Regions from separate parts of the Homo sapiens genome. Here region 1 is linked to region 2. The links are contacts of gene promoters, found by promoter capture Hi-C in human tissues and cell types (Jung and others, 2019). All regions are on one chromosome and are shown on one strand. The core of a region is centred on a gene start or on the middle of the fragment in contact, and the rest is flanking DNA. Distances in the headings are between cores, read along the strand shown. Region 1 overlaps CCDC174 (coiled-coil domain containing 174). Region 2 holds the start of MRPS25 (mitochondrial ribosomal protein S25).

Evidence for each region. The method cuts DNA at HindIII sites, captures the fragments that hold promoters and counts their contacts. A contact is called where the count stands out against the background at its distance.
Region 1: a contact is called between a fragment that was not itself captured here and the fragment with the promoter of MRPS25 in region 2, in 1 of the 25 tissues and cell types used here (dorsolateral prefrontal cortex).

What each region holds. Positions count from the first base shown.
Region 1 is chr3:14,653,232-14,658,331 of GRCh38, forward strand. CCDC174 (coiled-coil domain containing 174) reads left to right here. Exons shown (of 11, transcript NM_016474.5): 2 at 1,195-1,299; 3 at 2,298-2,398. Among named protein-coding and RNA genes, the nearest start is that of CCDC174, 4.0 kb to the left of the region's middle. The HindIII fragment of the contact is 6,308 bases long and covers 298-5,100 here.
Region 2 is chr3:15,063,484-15,068,878 of GRCh38, forward strand. MRPS25 (mitochondrial ribosomal protein S25) reads right to left here and starts at 1,832. Exons shown (of 4, transcript NM_022497.5): 1 at 1,578-1,832. The coding sequence starts at 1,711. RefSeq lists an enhancer at 1,812-1,991. The HindIII fragment of the contact is 13,424 bases long and covers 1-5,395 here.

The DNA of each region.
Region 1 (5,100 bases), core at 2,202-4,701, 410 kb before region 2:
ATTTGAGAATTTACATTTTTTTGAGCATCTCTTAAAGTTAAAGGCAGTTGTAGACTAGGAAGATATGTGGCTGGAAAATTTGGTGTGGTTAAGTAAGCTTAGAAGAAAAAGTAGAAGTTTTTCATTTGTTTTTAAAAATTTCCAGTATTAGGGTCTGCAGTGAAACTGCCCTTTGCATTATTAAATGGTTACCTTTTAAATCGATTTCTTCCAAAACGGAAATTGAACCCAGCCATTTTTATCTTCCTTAACAAATAAAGTGATTTTTTTAAGTATCTGATGATTAAGACAGTGATGAAGTATCTGATTTACAAATGCCCATCCATATAAGCAGCTGTACCTGGACCATTAAAAAGGAAACTGTTGTTATATCCTTTTTTGCAGAGTAGGCAGGGGTAATTAATGTAGCTGAGGGAAAGGTACTAATATTCACCCAACTGCCCCACTCCCTATGCCTTGGCCTTCTTTCCTGTTCTTGAACCGTGTGATTCAGCCAAGCTTACGGTTTTTGAAATGGATTAAGTCAAACGTGGAGCTGTTATAATTCACCCAGTCTATTTTATTTCTAGCTGTTGAAATAATGTGTCTTTAAAGGCTCTGCTCTAAGCTTTCTCTGATCACTCTGCTCAGAAGGAAATGCTCTGTTATCTGAACTTATGTGCTACTTTCTTCCACTCTAGAGTCATTTGTTTTATTTTGTTGGTAGTATAAATTACTTTCCTTGTTACATTGTAGGCTCTTTGAGGCAGAGAGTATGTCTAATTCATGTTTATGTTCTGCTCTTCAGCGTTATTTCTACAGCATTTCACTGTAGAAATAAGTTGTGATGATGAAATGAGTGCAGTGCTAGTCAGAGAGAAGGTGCTTAATAATGCAAGTTTAATCTGAAACTAAAAGATGCAGACTTTATTAATTTATTTTGCTTTATCACTTTCTCCTTGCCTAAGGAAAGCCTCGAGTGTTGAAAGTCAGAGTAAAAATGCATTTGCAGCAGAGGTAGAATGAAACATGACTTAGCTTAATTTGTGTACTGGATTCTACATTTAAACATTTAGTTACTTAAACATTTAGTTTTTTAGCCATATTTGTCCATTTAGCGGAACTTGAAATATTCCTTTGGAAATTATAATAATTTAGCAATCCAGTCACCTGCAGGAATTTAATATTTTTGTTTACTTACTGCTTTCATTCTAGTTGGTAGATCTTAAGGCTGAACTCTTCCGAAAGCAAGAAGAATTCAAACAAGAAAAACTTCTAAAAGATTCTGGAGTTTTTGGAAAACCAAAAACAACTAACAAGGTAAAAAATAAGATCTAATTATCTCCATTGGTTCCAAACATGGGAGAATTATACCATATTTAAGTGTTTTAAAATTGTCAGTGGTATCTGTACACATAAATGTTAAGGAAAAATCTCTATCTTGTATTTAACATCTGCATGAAATGTTATTAAAATAGAAATTAGTAAGATTATATAAAAGTACATAGTAATGTGCTAATTCTTTAGCACTTCTTTTGGAAAAATGTGGATTGTTTACATTTCATAAACAGATGGAAGGTTATCTGGTTCTATAAGTGTTAGGTATCCAAATAGAGATAAACAATTAGATAATATAGGAATATAGCGGAAAATATCAGGGTGTATAAGAGCTGTGAATTTTTCCAGTTTTATAGGTAATAGTGTCTACTATTTGTATTACTAATTCTCTGTAATATGTACATTTTCATTAATCTTGATTTAGGTTGTAATCATTCAGGAGATAAAAGATAGTAGGAAGTGATTCTGCACTCAGGAAGCTCTTTAGGCTGGGCGTGGTTCCCACGCCTCTAATCCCATCTCTTTGGAAGGCCGAGGCAGGCAGATCACTTGACCCCAGGAGTTCGAGACCCGCCTGAGCAACATGGCAAAACCCCGTCTCTACAAAAAAAAATTAGTCAGGCATGGTGGTGCGCACCTGTATTCCCAGCTACTTGGGAAGCTGAGGTGGGAGGATCACTTGAGCCCAGGATGTTGAGGCTGCAGTGAGCTGAGATCGCACCACCACACTCCAGCCTGGGTGACAGAGTGAGATCCTGTCTCAAAGAAAAAAAAAAAAGTTATTTATATAATTGAGGGCTCTTTTTTTAGCTCCTGCTTGCCATGTATAGTCAGTATCTTTGTAGGACACAGCTTATCTAGTTATCTCCATTGATTCATAAGAACTCATGATCTCCTTTGTTTTTTTTTTTCCTGATGCACAAGTAGAGATTTTTTGGCAATCATGTGGTTCTGTTTTGTCTTCTAAAATTATTCTCCAGAAACCAAGTATCTGGAGCAAACAGAATGTAGGCGTTTCAAATCGAGCTGAGAAGGATGCTGAACAGAAGATTGAAGAACAGAAGACTTTAGACAAAGCAAGGTAAAGTTATAAGCTCTGGTAAATATAGTTAGCTTTGAGGCTACCCAGGCAGAGAAATGGAAGTTCAAATTTTGTCCTTTTTGATTTACAAATTTTATTTTTAACATCCTTCTAGCCCAATGCTCTAAGTACTCTAAAAATAATATAATTTGCAGATATATCTGTAGTCTTATAAAAAGGTAAAACATAGTCACAGTTTATAAGATGAAACATTCTTGCTGTCAGCCTTTGTTAGACACTAAGATTATCAATACATTTTTAAGAGGTTTTCCCATGGTGTGGGCTAGGTGGGATGACACTAGAATTTAGAAACCCTAAACTTCCCCCCCACCTTTTATTTTGAAAAACTTCAAGGGTACATAGAACATTCTAATATTCTTCACCTAAATTCCCCAGTTAACATCTTGTCACATGTGCTTTCCCTCTCTCTCTCTTACACACACACACGCGTGTGTAGAGAGACTTTAAGCTTCATACTTTCCCTGTAAGTCGTTCAGCCTATATCTTCTGAGAACAAGGACATTTTCCTACATAACCACAATACCGCTATCAAACCCAAGAAATTTAACACTGATAAATTAGTATTATCTATTTTGTGGTCCATATTCAGATTTCACCAGTTATCCCAGTACAATTATGTATTTTATAGATTTAAAAAAAAATCCAGGATTCAAAGATTACCCATTGTTTGTAGTTGTCAAATCTGTTTAGTCTTCTTTAATCTAGAACTGTTCCCTTGCCTTTTGGTTGTCTGTTATGCCATTAACGTTTTTAAAGGGTCCAGGCCAGTTATTTCTGCAGTGTCCCACAACCAATTAGAGTCGTATGAAATGTTTTTGGTAAGAATACTATGTGGGCAGTGGTGTGTCCTTCCCATTGAATCACATCAGGAGGCTCATAAGGTCAGTTTGAGTCGTTATTGGTGTTGATAGGTTTGATTACTTGGTTAAGGTATATATGCTTGGTTTCACCACTGTAAAGGTGCCTCCCCAATTTGTAATTAATAGTAATCTGAAGTGGGAAATTTGGAGACTGTGTGAATATCCTCTTCACCAACTCATTTCCATGCAATGATTTGTTATCATTGATGAATCTTGATAGTTATCAGTTATCACATTGCTGGTTTCAGAATGATGATTTTTCTAATTCTGTCATTCCATCTTTATTATTTTTCTAAAGAAAAGACAGCATCACCCTCAGAGAGAATCCCAAGTTTCAATGTTTGGCATGACTGCTACATGTGCTTTTGGATATATGGAATAATAAAATTCTGTGGTCCCAAACAGTAGTTGCCAAGGTTGCTCAGCAATCTTGGGTCTGAAGATAGAAGGCAGAATATTAGCCCATTTGGGGACATTTTCTTAGCATTTGACCTGTCCCCAACAGACCTCAGGCTTTACTTAAAGATATGATCAGTTTTGAGACATTTCCCACTCTTGGACATATTCTCAGAATTTTAATTTTGTCCAAAGTTACCATGATCTTTTATTATTTTGCTCTGTGTATCAAGAGTTTTTCTTGGCACTTTGCTGTGCTTTTTCTATGCAGTAACTTTTATGAAGCACTTTGGTTTTGCTGTGTTGTGGGAGTCAAGACAACTGCAGGATGTCTGCCTCCCTCCAGAGCTCAGAACACGCAAGCACAGTCCCAGGCTTTTCTGAGGTAGAAGGCCTTGGGCAAGTTAGTTATCTGTTAAGACTCTTTCTTTATCTATGAAGTGAGGTGGTTAATACTTAGGTTATGAAGTCCTTCAGGGAATTAAAGGAGATAAATAGTGTCTGGCACTTAGAGGTTGCAGGCAGTGTCCCTGCTCTCATGCTCTGAATCCCATCTTTCTAACTCAACAGAAGAAACTGTTCTTTAAAGTCACTAGTGACATCCTCATCCACTAAATCCAGCGGCCGTTTCCCTGACACCTTCCTTGATCTCAATTATCCATTTGTAGTCTGTTCCTAACCCCTGAAAACTGTTGCTACACTGCACCAAGTTTCATATCCTTTCTCACGTGCTCTCATCCCTGCCTGTCTCTGTCTCTATTTTGCACCATTCTCTATTTTGCTCAGCACCCTCTGCTCTACTGGTCTCTCTTGAAAATGTCAAGCTCATCCTCACTTAATCTTTCCTTTTTCTGACCTGCCTTCCCTGCCCCCAGATCCTCCTGTGGTTGGCTGCTTCTTGCTGTGCAAGCCATGGCTCCGTTTTCATGTTCAGAGAGGTTTCCCCTGACTGCCCTCTCTCAGTTAGTGTCCTGCCCACTCACTCTAACCTGACACTTGTTGCTTTGTGTTCTGTTTGACTTTTAAATTTTTTCTAGTTTTCTTTTCATTAAAACAGTAAGATCCTCTGATGACCAGCTAGTTACAGTAAGAGCCCTCCAAAATAGGGGTCTTAGAAGCCTGATATGAGTGAGCCGGTCCACCATGCACTGCATTACTGCATGTCAAGGGGCCTCTCTGCTGGCATGCGTTTCTTCCCCTCACAGCTCTTCTCACAGTCTCAGGTCCTCCTTTTCATTCCTTTCTTTATTGTCCTTCTCCATCTCTAGAATGGGAACTCCCAGGAAGCTGGGACTTTTTCTTGTTCCTGTGAGTCCTCAGTGCCTAAAACAGTGCTTGGCAGGTAGGAGGTGTGCAATAAGTACTTGGTGAATGGATGTGTAAAATAAAAGAGGAATGTTTCTGACATTGTGATTAAGAGTGGTC
Region 2 (5,395 bases), core at 582-3,081:
GGACTGCGGCTAGCCAGAGCAAGGCAGACAGACTCCAACCCACGGGTACAAGATCACAGAGGGCACAGGTGGCACAGGCCAGCCCCTACCACCAGGAACAAAGAAACAGTGAATGGCTGTTTGTATCCCATTTACCTAGAGGACATTAAAATATCTGAGAATGTAAGTAAGAGGCTCACAGGCTTATTTTGATTGGCTGGCCATTTAAAAGCCAGAGATTTACATAAAAACCTAGATTTCAGCTTCTTGACAAATGAGAAATTCTCCACGGAGCCCACAATGCCAAACAGTGAAGGGCCCTCTGGATAGGGCATGTGCTCTCCAGCTCGCTGCGGGCCGCACCGAGACCCCCACCCCTTCCCATTATCTGCCTGGCAGTTGCCCGGGGACAAAGGTGTGCACAGTTGTGCAGTAGGTTATGAAGGAGTATCTGGGTGCCCATACACCCTAAGACCAAGACCAAGTCTTCCAGGAAGCCATCAAGCCAGCTGATTCCAGGCAAGCAGGTCCAAGTTATCAGATTCACCTGCGCAGAGCAAATGGCTAGGAAGCGGCTTCCGGATCTCTTGAAGGGCCATGCAGTGAAGGTCCGTCACCAAGGGGACCATGCCCCACAAGAAGTTGCTCCCCGCCCCCACGCCTCATTTTGATCCAACATACACCCAAGTCCCAAAGTTTCTGCGGGCTAAGGCTGCCTCCTCCATCACTGCTGAACTCCCAGCACACAGCACACAGCCTAGCACTCAGAGTGTACTCAATAAATGTAGACTTCATACCTGCAGAGCCTAAGGCACTGCTTAGGGCTGCCTCAGGGTCAATCCAAACCTTTCACTTGCCAACTGCCATTCAATGAGTCCCTACTCTGCTCCAAGCTGAAAGACATCCTAGGCGTTCCCTACAGTTCCTTCTAGTCGGGGTAGGGTCTGCCGCTGCACAGCTGACATAATTAATCACTTCCTTCCAAACCTTGAGTCCCGAAGGAAGCGGCCACACTGCCCGGCTCACCGCTCACCGGCTGGCATGGTGTCTCGTGGAGCTGCAAGTTACTTAACCTCTCTGTGCGCTTCCCCAGCCTTAGAGTGGGGATAAGCTGGGGTTTCTCTAGGCATCAGAAAAAAGAAAGCGCGAGAAGCATTCAGAACTGTGCGAGATATGATCAGTGTTCGCCGCTGTTATTTCTCTCATTTTATCCTCAGATTCGTCCTGGGGTGTCACCCCCGTCACCCCGAAAGGATCTGCGGCTGCCCCTCCCCAGCGCTTGCCTTGCTGGCCAGAGGGGCCAAGGGAACTGGTGGCCTCCCTCGGGTCAGCCTCGCCCACCGCGCCGGAGGAAGGAGATCCAGGAGTGGGGTTCTTGTCCTCCGCCCCCCAAACCTCGTCACGACTGCAGCCGGCCCGGCGGGGGCCCCGCCGTCCGCCTCAGTCTGGACCTCTGTAAAATGGGGGTAACAGCGCCGACCTGGGGGGCCCGCCCCGGGGATGAACGGCCGCCCAGAGCGACTCGGGACCTCACGTTACCAGCAGGCTGGCACGACTAGCAGGTTACGGCTCGCCAGGCGGCCGGGGCTGCGACTGACCTGGCGCCCTCGCCCAGCTCCCCATGCGTGTTGTAATTCACTGTCATGACCTTCACGGAGTCCTTGAACACCACGTTCCCCTGGCTCAGATATTGCAGGGTGCGGCGGATGGGGAAGCGGCCCTTCATGGGCATGGCGGCAACGGTGGCGGGGCCGACCCCACGGGCCGCGAGCCGAGCAGCGACGAGAAAGGACTAGCTAGCACCCGCGCGGATCTCACGCGGCTTCTCCCCAGAGCCAGGTTCCACTTCCCGCGCAGACGCACAGGAGACGCTTCCCGGCGGGCAGCGCACGCCGCGGAGCACTCTGGGACTTGTAGGCGGCCTTCGACCCGGCGCGGCGAGAACCGGTGTGTGCAGCTTCGCTTTAGGACGCCTTCCCCTTGGAAGGTTTAGGTTGTCGCGTCCTGTAAATTAGTCATTTCCCCATCCACCCACGGGAAAATATTTTTACATAGGCTAAAAGTCAGACATTGCAATAAGAAATAATCAGGAAAGCTCAGTTTGGATACCAAGTCAGCTGATAACGTCCTATTGAACGTATTGTCCATTTTTCTCCCCAAACATCTCCAGTTTTATCATGAAGAGTTCAAACTGCACTTTCTGACGTTGACTTAAACTTCTTAGCAAAAGAAAAAAAGATGGTTTGGGATCAATTCCTTCCTAAATTCAGCCACTTAACTCAGGACCTCAATTTTTTCGTAAACAAACTATGGGTGAGATGTATTTCTAGGGCCAGGCGCGGTGGCTCCCGCCTGTAAACCCAGCCTTTGGGGAAGCCGAGGCGGAAGGATCGCTTGAGGTCAGGAATTCGAGACCAGCCTGCCCAACATGGCGAAACCCCGTCTCTACTGAAAATACAAAAATTAGCCTGGTGTGGTGGCAGCACCTGTGGTCCCAGCTACTCAGAAGACTGAGGTGGGAGGATCGCTCGAACCCGGGAAGTTGCAGTGAGCCGAGATCGCGCCACTGCACTCCAGCCTGGGCGACAGAGCAAGACTCCCTCTCAAAAAAAAAAAAGATACATTTCTGAAGTACTCTTGATCTGAAAGGTATTTCTCCTTCTCTTTTGAAGAGTGATTTTGCCAGATTTAGAATTCTAGGTTAGTGTTTTTCCTTTCCCTCCCTCCCTTCTGGAGTGCAATGGTGCTATCTTGGCTCACCGCAACCTCCGCCTCCCAGGTTCAAGTGATTCTCCTGCCTCAGCCTCCCGAGTAGCCGGACTTACAGGCATGCGCCACTACACCCAGCTAATTTTGTATTGTCAGTAGAGACGGGGATTCTCCATGTTGGTCAGGCTGGTATCAAACTCCTGACCTCAGATGATCCGCCCGTCTCAGCTTCCCAAAGTGCTGGGATTACAGGCGTGAGCCACTGCGCCTGGCCCTGGTGTTTTTCTTTCAACAATTTAAATAGTTCACTCCACTCTTTTTTTGCTTGCATGGTTTCAAACAAGTAATTAAATGCAATTACATTTATAGGTATGATGGCTTTTTCCTTTAGCTTCTTTCAAATTTTCTCTTGGTGTTTGGTTTACGGGGTTAGAATAAGGTAATGCAGATCTGTAGATGTTTTGTATTTGTCCTGCTTGGAGTCCTCTGAGCCTCCTGGATCTGTGATTTCATGTCTGTCATTAATTTTGTAAAGTTCTTAGCCATTTATTAGTTCAGGTATTTATTCTTCACTCTTTTCTCTTTCTAGTATTCAAGTTAAATGCATTTTATGTCTTCTGGAATTGCCTCATAGTTCTCGAATGTTCTGGCGGGGTGATGGAGGTTCTCTTTGCATTTTAGTGGGGAAGTTTCTGTTGACCTATCTTCAAATTCATTTAATCTTTGGTTATGGACAGTCTACTGATAAGCCCATTAAGGCATTTTTCATTTAAGGTTTTAACTTCTAGCACTTCCTTTTGATTCTTAGGGTGTTTGTTTGTTTGTTTTGAGACAAAGTCTCTGTCACCCAGCCTGGAGTGCACTGGTGCAATCTCTGCTCACTGCAACCTCTACCTCCTGGGCTCAAGCAATTCTCCCACCTCTGCCACTTAGCTGGGACTACAGGTGCACACCACCATGCCTGGCTAATTTTTTTTTTTTTTTTTTTTGAGACGAAGTCTCGCTCTGTCACCCAGGCTGGAGTGCAATGGCACTATCTTGGCTCACTGCAACCTCTGCCTCCCAGGTTCAAATGATTCTCCTGCCTCAGCCTCCCAAGTGGCTGAGATTACAGGTGCCCACCACCACACCCAGCTAGTTTTTGTATTTTTAGTAGAGACAGGGTTTCACCATGTTGGCCAGGCTGGTCTTGAACTCCTGACCTCGTGATCCACCCGCATTGGCCTCCCAAAGTGCTGTGATTACAGTCATGAGCCACTGTGCCCAGTCTAATTTTTGTATTTTTAGTAGAGATGGGGTTTCACCTTGTTGGCCTGGCTGGTCTCAAACTCCTGACCTCAAGTGATCTGCCTGCCTCAGCCTCCCAAACTGCTGGGATTACAAGTGTGAACCACCACACCTCGCATGATTCTTAGTTTTCTTATGTCTGTTTACATTACCCATCTGTTCTTGTATGTTGTTTACTTTTACCATTAGACCCCTTAACAGACCACATTTTAAATTTCTTGTCTGATAATTCCAATATCTGAGTGTGATTCTGATGTTTGCTTTGTTTCATCTGATTGTTGGGTTTATTTTTTTCCTTGCCTTTTAGCATGCTTATAATTTTTTTGTTGAAGGTAGAATATCCACTCTATTGGGCCATAGGAACTGGGGTAAATAAGCCTCTAGAATGAGAACTTATGTTAATCTGGCTCAGAGTTGAGAGCTGTGTTTAATGTTTGCCATAGCTGTAGGTGTCAGAGGCTTCCAGTTCCTCTAGTGTCTTTGTGTTTATCTCCTCTTGCCTTTGGGCTTCCCTCGATATTCCTCCTGAGAGAGTCCGTGTCTTGCAGCTCTTCCAGGTATAATTCACTGTTACTATCCTGGAGTCCTGTTGATGTGGTGGAAAAACATGGGGGAGGTGAAGCATTCTATAATCTTACGATTAAATCTCAGCATTTTAGTGGGCTTGTGTCCTTGGGCTGTGACCTACACAAGTGTTCTTTCCTTTTTTTTTCTTTTTCTTTTTTTTTTTTTTTTTTGAGGCAGTGTCTTGCTCTATCACCCAGGCTAGAGCGCAGTACAGTGGCGCAATCACAGCTCACTGCAGCCTCTACTTCCCAGGCTCAAGCAATTCTCCCACCTCAGCCCCGAGTAGCTTGGACTATGGCATGTGCCACAATGCCTGGTTAATTTTTGTATTTTTTGTAAAGATGAGGTTTTGCTATATTGCCCAGACTGGTCTTGAACTCCCGGGCTCAAGCAATCTGCCCACCTTGGCCTCCCAAAGTGCTGGAATTACAGGCGTGAGCCACCGCACTGGCCCACAAGTGTTTCTTAGTTCCCCTTTGTACCCCCTTACATGACCCAGCCCTCCTCCAGATGGATAAGGCTCTGTGAAAAAGTGCTTTCCTCTGGGGAATAAGCTTTATTATGGAGAAGGCTCTGATTACAAAGATGATTCTCCCTTTCCCCTGCCAGAGTCACCAGAGGGTCTTCCTCAGCTCTTCACCAATAGAACCAAGTAGGGTAAAACCCAGGAAAGCGTTGGGGGTGAGGGGGAGTTGCTCCCTCCCATGCTAGTCCACACTCAACCTCCAGCAGTTCATCAAAATTACCATTTAAGTTTTCCTACTAGCTATGGCTCCCGTGGCTTCTGCTCCAGGCAATTAGATCTTGCTCACTCTCTGGACTCACCTCTCTCTAGATTTTGGGATGGCAGTTT